Regions from separate parts of the Homo sapiens genome. Here region 1 is linked to region 2. Evidence: promoter capture Hi-C in human tissues and cell types (Jung and others, 2019). All regions are on one chromosome and are shown on one strand. Each heading gives the region's core, a stretch centred on a gene start or on the middle of the fragment in contact. The rest is flanking DNA. Distances are from core to core; before and after follow the strand shown. Region 1 overlaps GPBP1L1 (GC-rich promoter binding protein 1 like 1). Region 2 holds the start of HPDL (4-hydroxyphenylpyruvate dioxygenase like).

Region 1 (7,499 bases), core at 1,091-3,590, 320 kb before region 2:
ATATTGGGAGCAATATTAATATGTTTACTCTTATCACTTGTATTTATCATTGTATTAGAGGTCCTAACAAGTACAATAAGGCAAGAAAAAGAAATGTATACAGTTTAACAAGAGGAAATAAAACTTTGTGTTTGCAGGTGAAATGAAAATCCTAAGGACTCTGTAGAAAAACTATATATGAAATTCCAGAACAGCCAAATAATCTATGATGGGAAAGAAAATCAGAATGGTTTTATGGTTGCCTGTGCACAGTGGGGATTAACTGGGAAAGGGTATGAAGGGAACTTTCTGGTTGATGGAAGTGTTAATAATCTTCAAAGAAGTTAGGGAGGTATTAGCATTTTAAAAACTCATAGAATTGAGTATATTTTATATGTGTACATTTTACTGTATGAAAATTTTAGTATTAAAAAATATTAAAATTACCAGTAGTGAAACAGATTTAAACCTCCTGATATGATGGCACTGAGAAATATGCACCATCACCTCTGTAACATTCCTTCCAGAAATGCATTGCCTGGATCTAATCATAGGAGACCTCAGACAAGCCCAAATTGAGGATTCTACAAAAGAATTGCAAAATAACTGGCCTGTAGTCTTCAAAAATGTTAAGGCCATGAAAAAAAAAAAAGCTCCAGATTAAAGAACTAGAGATATGACAACTAAAAACAACATGTAAACCTAGATTAAATAACTACTGGGTGAGGCAAAACCATTTTGCAAAAATTTTCTTTTGCTAAAACATCAGTGGGACAATTTGAATAAGTGTTGTAGATTAGATAATAGTATGTATAAGTGTTAATAATTACTCTGATTATGTAAAAGATATCCTTTTAAGGAAATACATATTTAAGGGTAAGTGGCATCAAGTCCTGCAACTTGCACATGGTTCAGGAGAAAGAATGGGGAAGCAAATGTGAAATATTAATACAGGTTGAGCATCTGCAGTCTAAAACTTTTTGAGTGTGGATGTCATGCCACAAGTAGAAAATTCCATACCTGATCTCATGCAGCAGGTCGCAGTGAAAACTTTTGTTTCCTGCACAAAATTATTTGAGACAGAGATTCACTCTTGTGTCTCAGGCTGGAGTGCAATGGCGCGATCTTGGCTCACTGCAACCTGCGCCTCGTGGGTTCAAGCCATTCTCCTGCCTCAGCCTCCCAAGTAGCTGGGATTACAGGCATGCGCACCCCTACGCCCAGCTAATTTTTGTATTTTTAGTAGAGGCGGGATTTCGCCATGTTGGTCAGGCTGGTCTCAAACTCCTGACCTCAAGTGATCCGCCTGCCTCAGCCTCCCAAAGTGCTGGGATTACAGGCGTGAGCCACTGTGCTCAGCCCTGAAATTATTTTAAAGTAAAGTTAAAAATAAGACAAAGCAAGTAGAGTTGAGGAACCAACAAAATCTACAGATGCCATCTACGTCAAAGCAAAATGATATTTCCCCACATACCCGTAAAGGGATAGGGACAAACCACCAAAATCTATATAAGAGGCTTGGTTAATACTAGCATTTGTGCAGGGGGAACTGAAGGGAAGCAGCAGAGCACCTGACAGCATAAAGAATGCTAACAGAGCCAACCGTTTTTCTGGAAAGCTCGTAGGGCATATTTGAGAAGAGCAGCAGTTAATCGGGAGTAGTTTTCCGTAATGGAATAACAAGTAAATACAGGGGCTCTGGGATAAGGTATGAAGGATCTGACTGGACCAGTCAAGAGTTCAAACCACACAGTAGTTTGAATAGAGAAAGTTAATATAAGGAATTTAACTATAGCAAGATTGGAGTAATGAAGGATTGACTAGTACAAAGTAAAAAGATCTTTAAAGAAAATAGAAATAGCACGTAGTCACAGTTCAGTGGCTCACGCCTGTGATTGCAGCACTTTGGGAGGTCGAGGCAGGGCGATTGCTTGAGTCCAGGAGTTTGAGACCAGCCTGGGCAACGTGGTGAAACTTTTGTCTCTACAAAAAATTTAAAAATTAGCTGGACGTGGTGGGTACCTGGTAGTCCCAGCTACTCAGGGGGCTGAGGTGGGAGGATTGCTTGAGTCTGGCAGGTCGTAGCTGCAGTGAGCCCAGATGGCACCACTTCATTCCACCCTGGGTAACAGAGTGAGACCCTGTCTCAAAAAAAAAGAAAAAAACATACACACAGACATATATGCATACATACAAGGAGCAGCCACTACCCTTAGGGCTAAGACAGTGTGTCCAAGAATGAGTCCCCCATTTCCCTACCACCACCCCAGGGCTGAGATTCATACCTGGTTAGAAAGGGCTCAGTTGTGGCTCACTGAATGGCAGAGTAATTGCTGATGTGCTTCTCTGGGGAAGCGTGCTGAAAGGCTTTTCATGAGAGGTGTCACTCTGCTACAAAACTACTCAGATGAGGTGCTGAGGGAAGCTGCTGGTCTCTGAGCTCACTTATATGTCAGAACCTGGCTTTGAGGAACTGGGTGCTGTGGGAGCCTGCTGAAAAACACACAGGAACAGGAAGTAAAAATCTCTCCATTGTTCTCCGCTGGCAGAAGTTAACATGCCAGCTGTCAAAGGAAAAGTTTTAAAGTGTCCAGGCACATTTTTGCTCAACAGGCAGAAGGGATGACTTTGTGACTAAGAAGCGGTAACCAGCACAGGGTTCTATCGTTGTTCATGCTAGCTGGCCACTATACCCTTCCAGAACAAAGCCCGTCACTGAGGACAAACTGTTGGAAATATAATCCAGATTGAGCTGCAGAGAGACAAGTTAGTAGAGACGAAAGGAAAGGTTCAGATAAAAGCGGTAGGGAGAAGATAACCAGGACATTAAAGAACGTAAACCCGGGAGGCAGAGGTTGCAGTGAGCCAAGATCGCACCATTGCACTCCGGCCTGGGCAACAAGAGTATGAAACTTGGTCTCAGAAAAAAAAAAAAAAAAATCCTAAGAAGTTGGTTTAAAAAAAAAAATCATCTGGGAAAACTCAAAATAAGGGGCTAGAACTCTTGAAAAGAAGTAATAATAAAAAATTTCAGAAAAATACTGAAGAATAAAGAGAATAAATAATATTTTTCAAGAATTAGACAGCGAAGGAAAATTTTTTAAATGAAGGAGAAATACATAGGTAAAAAATTAAAACTGGGAAAAAAAAGTTTGGCAGAAAAGATCTAATATAGATATATAATAGGATCTTCCCACCCCGCCCCCAGAAAGAAAACCAAAATAAAGGAATAGCTTAAATACTGACAAGTGGCCGGGTACGGTGGCTCACACCTGTAATCCCAGCAGTTTGGGAGGCCGAGGGGGGCAGATCACGAGGTCAGGAGATCGAGACCATCCTGACTAACATGTTGAAACCCTGTCTCTACTAAAAATACAAAAAATTAGCCAGGCATGGTGGCGGGCGCCTGTAGTCCTAGCTACTCGGGAGGCTGTGAGGCAGGAGAATGGCGTGAACCCGGGAGGTGGAGCTTGCAGTGAGCTGAGATCGCGCCACTGCACTCCAGCCTGGGGACAGAGTGAGACTCCGTCTCAAAAAAAAAAAAAATACTGAAAAGTATAATTCAGGAACATTTTTCTGAAATACATTTAGATTTGAATCTACAAATTGAAAGGATAGCCAGGATGACTAAGACATACTCTTACAAAATACTAGACTTGAACAAAAAAAGAAAGATATCCTTTGGCCATTCAGGCATAAAGACTGAGTTGTTAAGAGAAAGAAAACCAGATAGACTGTGACAGCAAAGCTTTATAACAAGTAAATGGAGTAACAATTACAATAAAGAAAATGTGAGCCAAAGATTTTGTGCTTTGTCAAGCTAATGTTCAGTTATAAAGATCACAGACAAACATCAATGTGTAAGTACTTGGAATATTGCTCTTTCCGGCATTGTTTCGCGCTGCCACAATGGTGTGTGTGAACATCCTACCTGTTGCTCTCAAGAGTATCACCAATGCCGAAAAGAGAGGGAAACGCCGGTTCTTACTAGGCCATGCTCCAAAGTCATTGTCCAACTTCTAGCTGTGATGATGAAGCATCGTTACATTGGCAAATTTGAAATCATTGATGATAACAGAGCTGGGAAAATTGTGAACCTCACAGGCAGGCTAAACAAGTGTAGAGCCCCAGCTTTGATTTGCAACTCAAAGATCTAGAAAAACGGCAGAACAATCTGCTTCTATCCCAACCATTTGACTTCGTCATATTGACAGCCTTAGCTGGTATCATGGACCATGAAGAAGCAAGACGAAAACACACAGGAGGGAAAATCCTTGGATTTTGTTTCTAGGGATGCAATACATATTTACAAATAAAATGCCTCAAAAAAAAAAAAAACAAAAAACTTCGGAATATCGTTCCCAAGACTTTTCCTGAGAACTACTGAAGAACAAGCTTCTGACAAACTAACCAGAAAGATTACAAAAGGAATGGTGGTAAATACTAAATGTATGGTTAATTGTAGAGCTAAGAAGAAATGAGGGTTAAAAGAGAGTTAGCATGTGATAGTTATATGATCTCACAATCTGGACATAGTATAACTTTTTTAAAGTGGGAAGATGGGGAGAACATGTCCAAAAAAAACAAAACATTTTGGTCACTGGTGAAATACTGACATTGCTATTCTGAAACTTGTGCATAATATGGAATAAAGCAATTAAATATGATATTCTATACTTTGTATGCTTGAGAATCAGGATTCTTGTAGGAGGAAATAAAAACGTAAAATAGATGTTCCGTAAAATCCACAAGGGTACTCAGTTTGAATTGGGAATATCAGTAATAAGTTATGAGGTGTTTTAGCTTTGGAGTGAAAAATACATACTTCTAGGCGGTTCTGTCCACTGAAAAGACATAAAAACAGTGAACAACCCCATAGCAATGAGTGGCTCTACTGCCTGGATTGTGATCTTGAAATAGTTTATCCAGACAGCATACTTAAAAGAAGAGCTTGGAATATTTTTTCAAACTAGATAACAAAGAAGTAAAGAACTACTTAGGGTTGTAGCAAAAGGATTTAGAAGCCAAATTGAAGAGGGTTCCATAGGCCAAACATGGGACAGTTTTATGCATCAATTAATAATAATAACGACGAGGGTTGAATCACATCAAATTGGATTTAAATCTGTGAATTCACAATGATACCTACCTCACCTTAGGAACAAGCATGTATCATATTTTTTCTATATGAACTGTACTGTTGAATTGCCAAATAGGGGAAGTTCCTATTTATGGAAGTATACTACTTTATAAAGAATTGTAAAATTAGATCATTGTTTTTGCATCTTGTATTGAGCTGACAGTTTTAGGCTATGAGCACCAGTGTCTGCCAGCATCACTAAAAGAAGCACAACCACATGTTATTTGTGTGTGTCTCCTAATGGAAGAATACAAAACCACTAAGGATTCTGTAACCTCTAGAACCAACTACCAATTTATAGAAAGAGGCTTAAGATTTTCTAAAAACTAGTAGATTAAAAGCTGAGATTGTTTTTGGAGACAAAACTATAGTGTCAAGGGAGACACAATGGGTTAGTAAAAAAAAAAAATGCAGTGATCACCATAAGTATGAGTAGTTTTGGGGTTTTTTTCTAATGAGATTTGTAATGTCTTTCTGGTTTGTCTGGTAATGTTATGTTGCTTAAACCATGTAGTGTTTAAAAGAACTTTTACCCATTAACTTATTCATTTGTTTTATATTTTTCCTGTTTATATTTTACAAGTTTTAAAACTGTATTTTTTAAAACAGTAGAAAGAGATCAAAGATACTGTATAAATAGGAGCATTGTCTCTGAGAACCCTGGGTACAACATGCCTATTAAAATGAAACAAGGAAACAACCACAGCTTTTATGGCTGGGCACTCCTTCTGCCTCTACCACTCCATCTAGAGGAATGTATTTACCTGTCCTTGAAAATCTGTCACTGATTTGTCCACTTATATAGAGAGTTGGTAGTTTCATTTGCATTTGTGCTTGTTCTCCTATTGTAGTGGTTCTCACCTTGATTGCTTGGAAAATACATACCTGCTAGAGGCCCTGCCCCTGGAGATTCTGATTCTGAAGCTCTGTAGTGGAGCCTGGGTGTCTTTTTGTTGTTTGTATAATGTTCACAGGCAATTGTGCTGAAAAGCCATTTTCCTGCTGGGCACAGTGGCTCATGCCTGTAATCTCAGCACTTTGGGAGGCCAAGGTGAGTGGATCACTTGAGGTCAGTTCGAGACCAGCCTGGCCAGCATGGTGAAACCCTGTCTGTACTAAAAATACAAAAATTAGCTGGGTGTGGTGGTGCGCACCTGTAATCCCAGTTACTCAGGAAGCTGAGACAGGAGAATTGCTTGAACCTGGAAAGTGGAGGTTGCAATGAGCCAGGATTGTGCCACTGTACTCCAACCTGGGCAACAGAGTGACACTCTGTCACAAAAAAAAAAAAAAAAAAAAAAAAAAAAAGCCATTCTCCTACCCTGTTACCAGATCGTAAAGTTTGGGCTAGGACAGCAGTGTCATACGATTAGTTATTAAGTCTAGTCTATTGCTCTTAACTCTTCCCTGCCCTTTCCCTTATCTCGTTCTCTACTTCTGTTACCTTTATTACCCTCCCGGACTATGGAATTGATCTCCTAATGGTCTCTTAGTTGATGTTTAAATACCTCAGATCCATCCTTTAAGCTGCTACTAGAGTGACGGTTGTAAGTTGATAATTAGATAATGTTAACTGCATGAAAGATGGATCCTCATTACCTGTAGAATAAAACTTAATCTCCCCTAAGAAATCCTCCACAAGCTGGCTCTTGCCTGCTTTGCCAGATACCTCTTTCCCCACAGAAGGGTCCCCTCCTTCCCTAGCACTACTCATGCTGAACTATTTGCAGACCTGAATATTCTGTTCTTTTTAATGCTTTCTGTTCCTGGAATTACCGTTTTTCCAGCTTTGGAATTCATCTTTAAGGATTCTTAAATCACCTGTTAGTAAAGCCTTTTCTGATAGCACTTCTCTTTCAAGTAGAATTGATGTTTCTTACTGAGTACTCCTTCTTCCCTAATATGAATTTTTTTCATCGTCCTTGTAACCTTTTATTGTACTTAACTTGTCTAGAAGTTTTTATAGCAAAACTGTGACCCGTGTGAAGACAGGGGCTCTTTATTGTATTTCTAGCACAGTCCTTGGCATATGGTCTGCCCCTGCCCTACACCCATCTTAGAAATGCAGTGAATACTATACATTTCACTGACCACATTGTCCTCCTTTAATCTGAGGAAAATGATCCACATTCTTGTTCATCTAACTTTCAGTGCCTCCTTATTTGGCATACATATCCTATAGGAAAGTGGGAATTCGCACATTTAGTCTGTTTATTTAAAATAAATGAAATCCCTTATATCAAAGGAAATGAAACTCAGGAGAACCTAATATTAACATAATACCTATTGATTTTGTGTTTTGATATTTTCTGTTTGTTACGTTTCTGAATACAGTGTCAAATTAGTAAGTGTTGCTAATATGTAAAATATGTAATTATTT
Region 2 (6,927 bases), core at 122-2,621:
CTTAGGCTTCCTGGCTCCTGGCAGATTGCTCCTGTACGGACTGCCACAGAGCTCTGATGTTGCCCTGACCAAAGCCAGTGGCCCCCTGCCTCTGAATCAGCTCCAGGAAGAAAGTGTCCTCAGTAAAAAGGGACTTGGTGAAGACCTGAAGCAGAAACTTGCCTTTATCACCATCTAGCAGGATCCCCTGTCGAGCAAGCAGATGAGGCTCGTGCCCTGCAGCTCGGATCTGCCTCTCCTTTCCTGGCTGCTGGTAGTATGCCCCAGGGGGAGCCAGGAACTGGCCTCCAGCAGTTGCCACCCCCTCAGTGGCCTCCACAATGTTAGGCGTATACAGCCCCACGTGCTGCAGGCCTGGCCCCTTGTGCCGGGCCAGGAACTGCTCCACCTGGTCCTGTCGTGTCGTCGCCCCCGGAAGGGACTCAGCCAGAACAAGAGTGGGGACAATGCTGCCCGGCTGGGCCTGCAGGGCTGTAAGCCTCAGTCCCCCAAGCCCAAACCCTGCTGTCATTTCGAGGCCCAGCTCGGGATCCTCACCTGGGCTCAGCGGCAAGTGGCAAAAGCCCAGGCAGTCGTGGAACCAGCGCAAAAGTGTGGGGGAGCTGCCGGGGGTGCAGGCCAAGGTCAGGTGGTCCACGCGGCTGACCCACCCGGGGCCAGGCGCAGAGGACACGGGCCTGAAGCCGGGTAGGAAGGGTCCGCGGTAGCCAGCGCGCTCCAGCAAGGTCAGGCTGAGGATGCCGGCAGGCGAGCTGACCACGGCGTAAGTGGCGGCACCCTGCGCGTCCCGCACGCGAACGGGAGGGACAGGCACGCTGCAGCCCAGCGCTGCCAGCTCCCGGGTTGCAGCGCCGGCGTCCGCCACGTCGAAGCACAGGTTTGTGGCGCTGGGCACGGCGTGACGCGGATCCAGGCCGTACAGCGGCTCTCCAGACCCTGCGCCCTCGTTCACCAAAAAGACCGCGTCGCCGCTGCGCAGGGCTAGCTGCCGCCAGCCGTCCACCTCCCGCGAAGCCAGGGGCTGGAAGCCGAAGAGGCGCTGCAGGTTCCGGGCTAGGGGCTGCCCGGCGGGCACGTGGAAGGCGATGTGGCACAAACGAAGGGCGGGCGCGGCCATGGCGCTCTGGACGGCGACCTAGACTTGTCCTTCTGGGGCCGCTTACTTGTGGTTGGGGACTTCGGGGCTCTCAGTCCTGGGCTGATCGTCCGGAGTTGGGGAGTCCGGCTCACCCCGCAGAGCGCGTTCCTCGCTTTCTTCCGGAAAGAAGTCACCCGCCGACCCCTGAGAGCTCGCGGTTCTCCCTGCAGCGCCACCCCAGCCAGGAGCAGCGTCTGGACCACCGGGTCTCAGTGAGCCGAGCTGCTGGTTGTGAGAACCACGCGGTGCCTGTGCTCGCGCCAAGCAGGAGAAAGAGGGCGGAGCCCGTGACTCCGCCTTTGACTCCCCACCCCCTCCCCCACACCCTGTCGCCTCGGATACTGCGGGGTCGCCGCGCTGCTCTTTCCCCGGGCCTCACGCCTGGTCACATCCTTGGGCACTGAGCCTCCCTTCCCCAGCCCAGGAACTCACAATGGCTGCCTTCACTCGGCGCCAGGCACTGGGCTCCCACTCATCCCCCCAACCTCACAGCGAAGGGACTCAGCCCGGGTTCAGGGAAAGAGTTGGAATTCTCTCTCCACAAGCACGGAATTTTTTAGCACTTTCATGTTTTTTCTTTAAGTTCTGGAGTTTGCCTCTAAGTCTTAATGTTCCCTGGAATACACACACACACACACACACACACACACACACGTTTATATGTTTTGAGACAGGGTCTCACTCTGTCACCCAGGCTGGAGTGGCACAATCACAGCTCACTGCAGCCTCCACCTCCTGGGTTCAGGCGATTTTCCTTGCCTCAGTGCACAAATAGCTGGGACCACAGGCGGACGCCACCACACCCAGCTAATTAAAAATAATTTTTTTTTTTAGAAATGGGGTCTTGCTATATTGCCCAAGCTGGTTTTAAACCCCTGGGCTCAAGCCATCTTTCCACCTCAGCCTCCCAAAGTGTTGGGCAATCTCTCAACCAGTCCTGTCTCTTTCTTCAATCACCCTTCTGTCAACATCATTTAACCCCTTGTCCCAAGCAAGATTTGGAGGAAAAATCTGACGGTTCGGGATCTGAAAGGAACAGCTGCCTGGCTGTCATTCCCCTTCCCCATCCTTTGAGGACTGGAACACAGGCCCTCCTTGCTCTTTGCAGCTTCCTGACTTGGCATTGAGCCAGAGATTTCTGTGGTGGGGGCACTTCTGGCTCTGAAACCCAGAATTGTGTGAGATGACTGGATTGAGGAATTTGTAGTCTTCTGGAACTTCAACTGAGTGGCCCTTGAAGGGTTAGGGAAGGGCATCCAAGAAGGGCAAAGGGCATAAGCAAAAACTCAGTAAGAGTGTGAGCCAGACTCTTAGAGGAGCAATGGGCCATGCTGTTAGGGAGGCATTTAGGATGAATGCCACAGTCCAAGGCATCACAAGAAATTTTTTTGTCAGGCAGCCTGATCTACTGGGTTTCATTGGCAAGAGGGAGAAGGATGTCATAGGGGACAGGGGCTAGCTGGATGTCATGGTGTTCAGGCCTGCAGGCAGGAGGGCAGTACCCAGGAGCTGGTCAGGGTGGTAAAAGGTACTTGGTGCTACTCTGCAGACCAGTGAATGTGAGGACATGAGTTCCAAAAGCCAGACGGACCTGGGTTTGAATCACCAGCAACACTTACTGTCTGTATGGGCAAGTTGCTTAACGCCTCTGAGCCTTAATTTGCCCATCTGTAAAAATGGAAATAATAGTACCTACTTCAAAGAGTTGTGATTAAGTGAGGTGGAGTAAGTGTTCAGTAAATAGTAGCTGTTGCTATTGTAGTTACTGTTTTTTTTTTTAATTAATTTTATTTTCCCACATATTCTAATATTTATTTATTTTAAAAAGTTTTTCAGAGCTGGGCACAGTGGCTCACACCTGTAATCTCAGCACTTTGGGAGGCTGAGGCAGGCGGATCACCTGAGGTCAGGAGTTCAAGACCACCCTGGCCAACATGGTGAAACCCCATCTCTACTAAAAATACAAAAAATTAGATGTAATCCCAGCTACTCGGGAGGCTGAGGCAGGAGAATCACTTGAACCCAGGAGGCGGAGGTTGCAGTGAGCCAAGATCATGCCATTGCACTGTAGCCTGGGCAACAAGAGAGAAACTCTGTCTCAAAAAAAAAAAAAAAGAAAAGAAAAAAGTTTTTTTAGAGATGAGGTCTTACTCTGTCACCTAGGCTGGAGTGTAGTGGCATGATCACAGCTCACTGCAGGCTCCAACTCCTGGGCTTAAGCAATCCTTCCACCTCAGTCTCCCAAGTAGCTTGGGACTACAGGTGCACACCACCATGCCTGGCTATTTAGTTATTGTTTTATTTTATCTCATGATACAATGCCAGTGGTACCTCCCAGAAGGTGTTGTGTGGCCTACTAGAGAGATGGGGACAGGGGCTTCACTGGCATGGGCCAAAGGCTAGGCAGCCTACTCAATGAGCAGCTCACCCCAAGGAATCCTGGGTAGTAAGAAAGGAAAGTAAATCTTGGGGGCCCCAAATCACTAAGCTAAAAGGAAAAGTCAAGCTGGGAACTGCTTAGGGCCAATCTGCCTCCCATTCCGTTCAAAGTCACAGTAAGAGTTAAAGAAAGAGGAAAGAAACACAAAAAGCAGCTCAAAAATCAAACCTGAGAGGGGCTTCTGGCTGATTTCAGTCAGGAGTGCTCTCTCTTACAGACTATTTATTTATTTATTTATTTATTTATTTAGAGATGGATTCTCACTCTGTCACCAGGCTGGAGTGCAGTGGCGAGATCTCAGCTCACTGCAACCTCCGCCTCCCGGGTTCAATCGATTCTCCTGCTAGCCTCCCAAGTAGCTGGGACTTACAGGCACGCACCACCATACCCAGCTAATTTTTGTATTTTTTTTAGTAGAGACGGGTTTCACCATATTGGCCAGGATGGTCTCAATCTTTTGACCTCATGATCCGCCTGCCTCCACCTCCCAAAGTGCTGGGATTACAGGCGTGAGCCACCGCGTCTGGCCCAGACTAACAGTATTTATTGGAGAGAGCTTGGAATGTTTCTGTGTCAGGGAGAAGTTTATGGTGGAGTTGGAATGTCTCTGGTTGGAGGGGAGGTTATCTTGAGGCTGACACCTCTCCAGCCGAAGGGGAGGTTATCTTGGGGCTGGCATGTCTCTGGCTGGGGAGGGGCTTGGAACGTTTCTGGTCAGAGATGTCATTTGTGGTTTATGGTCATGCTGACCTTAGCCATTAGGCTGATGCCCTTTGGATTTAGGCAGTTTTTGATCAAGGCAAAACTTAAAATGGCAGTGCTTGTCCAAGATGGCAGTGCTCCTGCTCCGTCAGTCCAGACTCTATAGTGATAAAAAGGACGGGGGCAGCCAGGTGCAGTGGCTCACACCTGTAATCCCAGCACTTTGGGAGGCCAAGGCGAGTGGATAGCTTGAGGTCAAGTATTCAAGACCAGCCTGACCAACACGGTGAAACCCCATCTCTGCTAAAAAAAATACAAAATTAGGCCAGGCGCGGTGGCTCACGCCTGTAATCCCAGCACTTTGGGAGGCCGAGGCGGGTGGATCACGAGGTCAGGAGATCGAGACCATCCTGGCTAACACGGTGAAACCCCGTCTCTACTAAAAATACAAAAAATTAGCTGGGCGTGGTGGCGGGCACCTGTAGTCCCAGCTACTCGGGAGGCTGAGGCAGGAGAATGGCGTGAACCCAGGAGGCGGAGCTTGCAGTGAGCCGAGACTGAGCCACTGCACACCAGCCTGGGCGACAGGGCGAGACTCCGTCTCAGAAAAAGAAAAATTAGCCAGGCATGGTGGTGCACGCCTGTAATGCCAGCAAGCTGAGAGGCTGAGGCAGGAGAATTGCTTGAACCCAGGAGGCGGAGGTTGCAGTGAGCCGAGATCGCACCATTGCACTCTAGCCTGGGCAACAAGAGCGAAGCTCCATCTCAAAAAAAGAAAAAAAAAAAAAAGGGCCGGGTACGGTGGTTCATGCCTGTAATCCCAGCACTTTGGGAGGTTGAGGTGGGTGGATCATCTGAGGTCAGGAGTTTGAGACCAGCCTGGCCAGCACAGTGGAAACCCCGTCTCTACTAAAATACAGAAATTAGCCAGGTGTGGTGGGCGCATGCCTGTAATCCCAGCTACTTGGAAGGCTGAGACATGAGAATCACTTGAACCCAGTAGGCGCAGGTTGTAGTGAGCAGAGATCATGCTACTGCACTCTAGCCTGGGTGACAGAGTTAGACTCTGTCCCCCCCAAAAAAAAAAAAAAAAAAAAGAGGGGCGGCATGTTCTTTCTGGCTACTTCCTTTTGACGGGGATGGAGAGTTTTCTGGTTTCGGATTGACTATAGGAGTAATGCCATCTGTAGATGTTTTGGGGTAGTTGTCTGTGAAATGGCCATGATCCTGTCAGTTAAAAATCCTTGAAAAAAGTTTATTAGGCAGGGTAAGAACATTAGTCCTGGGCATATTATTAGGAGATGGCCCAGGAATGGGGATGACTCATGCTACGATTTTGTTCCCAAACCAAGAATCCATTTGGTTGTTTTGGTATTCCCTTAGCTTTTTAGTTCTTTCTTGCCGAGACCAGCTCGGTCGGGGAGACCCTAACCCAGCGGCGCTAGAGGAATTAAAGACACACACACAGAAATATAGAGGTGTGAAGTGGGAAATCAGGGGTCTCACAGTCTTCAGAGCTGAGAGCCCCGAACAGAGATTTACCCACATATTTATTAACAGCAAACCAGTCATTAGCATTGTTTCTATAGATACTAAATTAACTAAAAGTATCCCTTATGGGAAATGAAGGGATGGGCCGAATTAAAGGAATAGGTTGGGCTGGTTAACTGTAGTAGTTAACTGTAGCAGGATCTTCTGCTTAGTTTCTCAATTCATCCAAACCGTATCCAGGCCATCACCAATCATTCTATACGACAAATGCTCCTTCTAACAACCCCACAATATCACCCCTTACCACAAAATCTTCCTTCAGCTTAATCTCTCCGACTCTAGGTTCCCATGCCACCCCAATCCCGCTCGAAACAGCCCTGAAAAACATCGCCCATTATCTCTCCATACCACCTCCCAAAATTTTCACCACCCCAACACTTCAACACTATTTTGTTTTATTTTTCTTATTACTATAAGAAGACAGGAATGTCAGGCCTCTGAGCCCAAGCCTGCACGTATTCATCCAGATGGCCTGAAGTAACTGAAGAATCACAAAATAAGTGAAAATGGCTGGTTCCTGCCTTAACTGATGACATTACCTTGTGAAATTCCTTCTCCTGGCTCATCCCGGCTCAAAAGCTCCCCCACTGAGCACCTTGTGACCCCCACCCCTGCCAGCCAGAGAACAACCCCCTTTGACTGTAATTTTCCACTACCAACCCAAATCCTATAAAATGGCCCCACCCCTATCTCTCTTCGCTGACTCTCTTTTCAGGCTCAGCCCACCTGCACCCAGGTGATTAAAAAGCTTTATTGCTTATACAAAGCCTGTTTGGTGATGTCTTCACACATACGCGCGTGAAAGATCTGACTTGATCAAATCCAAAGGAAAGTTCCAAATTTTGTGGAACAAAGCCTCTCAAATGGTTGAATTAAAAAAAAAAAAGAAAGGCGGTGTGGTGAGGGAGAAAAACAGCCAGCAAAAGGGAGAAAAGAGGACAGATTTTGGATTTTGACTACTTTAGCCCCTTTAGGGGCTTTATTTACATAACGAGGCCACCTTTTTGCTAGTCAGGCGAAACTGAAAGAGCAATGGCTGTGCTTCTGAAACAGCGGCAATTTGTCCCAGCTCAAAAATGGTAATGAAATTTAAAAA

Evidence for each region. Contacts are between HindIII fragments. The study calls those that stand out against the background at their distance.
Region 1: a contact is called between a fragment that was not itself captured here and the fragment with the promoter of HPDL in region 2, in 3 of the 25 tissues and cell types used here (liver, neural progenitor cells and thymus).

What each region holds. Positions count from the first base shown.
Region 1 is chr1:45,642,587-45,650,085 of GRCh38, reverse strand. All of the region lies in intron 6 of GPBP1L1 (GC-rich promoter binding protein 1 like 1), which reads left to right. It also overlaps the pseudogene RPS15AP10. Among named protein-coding and RNA genes, the nearest start is that of CCDC17, 22 kb to the right of the region's middle. The HindIII fragment of the contact is 8,049 bases long and covers 1-6,364 here.
Region 2 is chr1:45,321,339-45,328,265 of GRCh38, reverse strand. It overlaps HPDL (4-hydroxyphenylpyruvate dioxygenase like), which reads right to left and starts at 1,371. Exons shown (of 1, transcript NM_032756.4): 1 at 1-1,371. The coding sequence starts at 1,117. The coding sequence ends at 2. RefSeq lists enhancers at 160-269, 1,030-1,279, 1,290-1,339 and a silencer at 4,075-4,369. The HindIII fragment of the contact is 17,678 bases long and covers 1-6,927 here.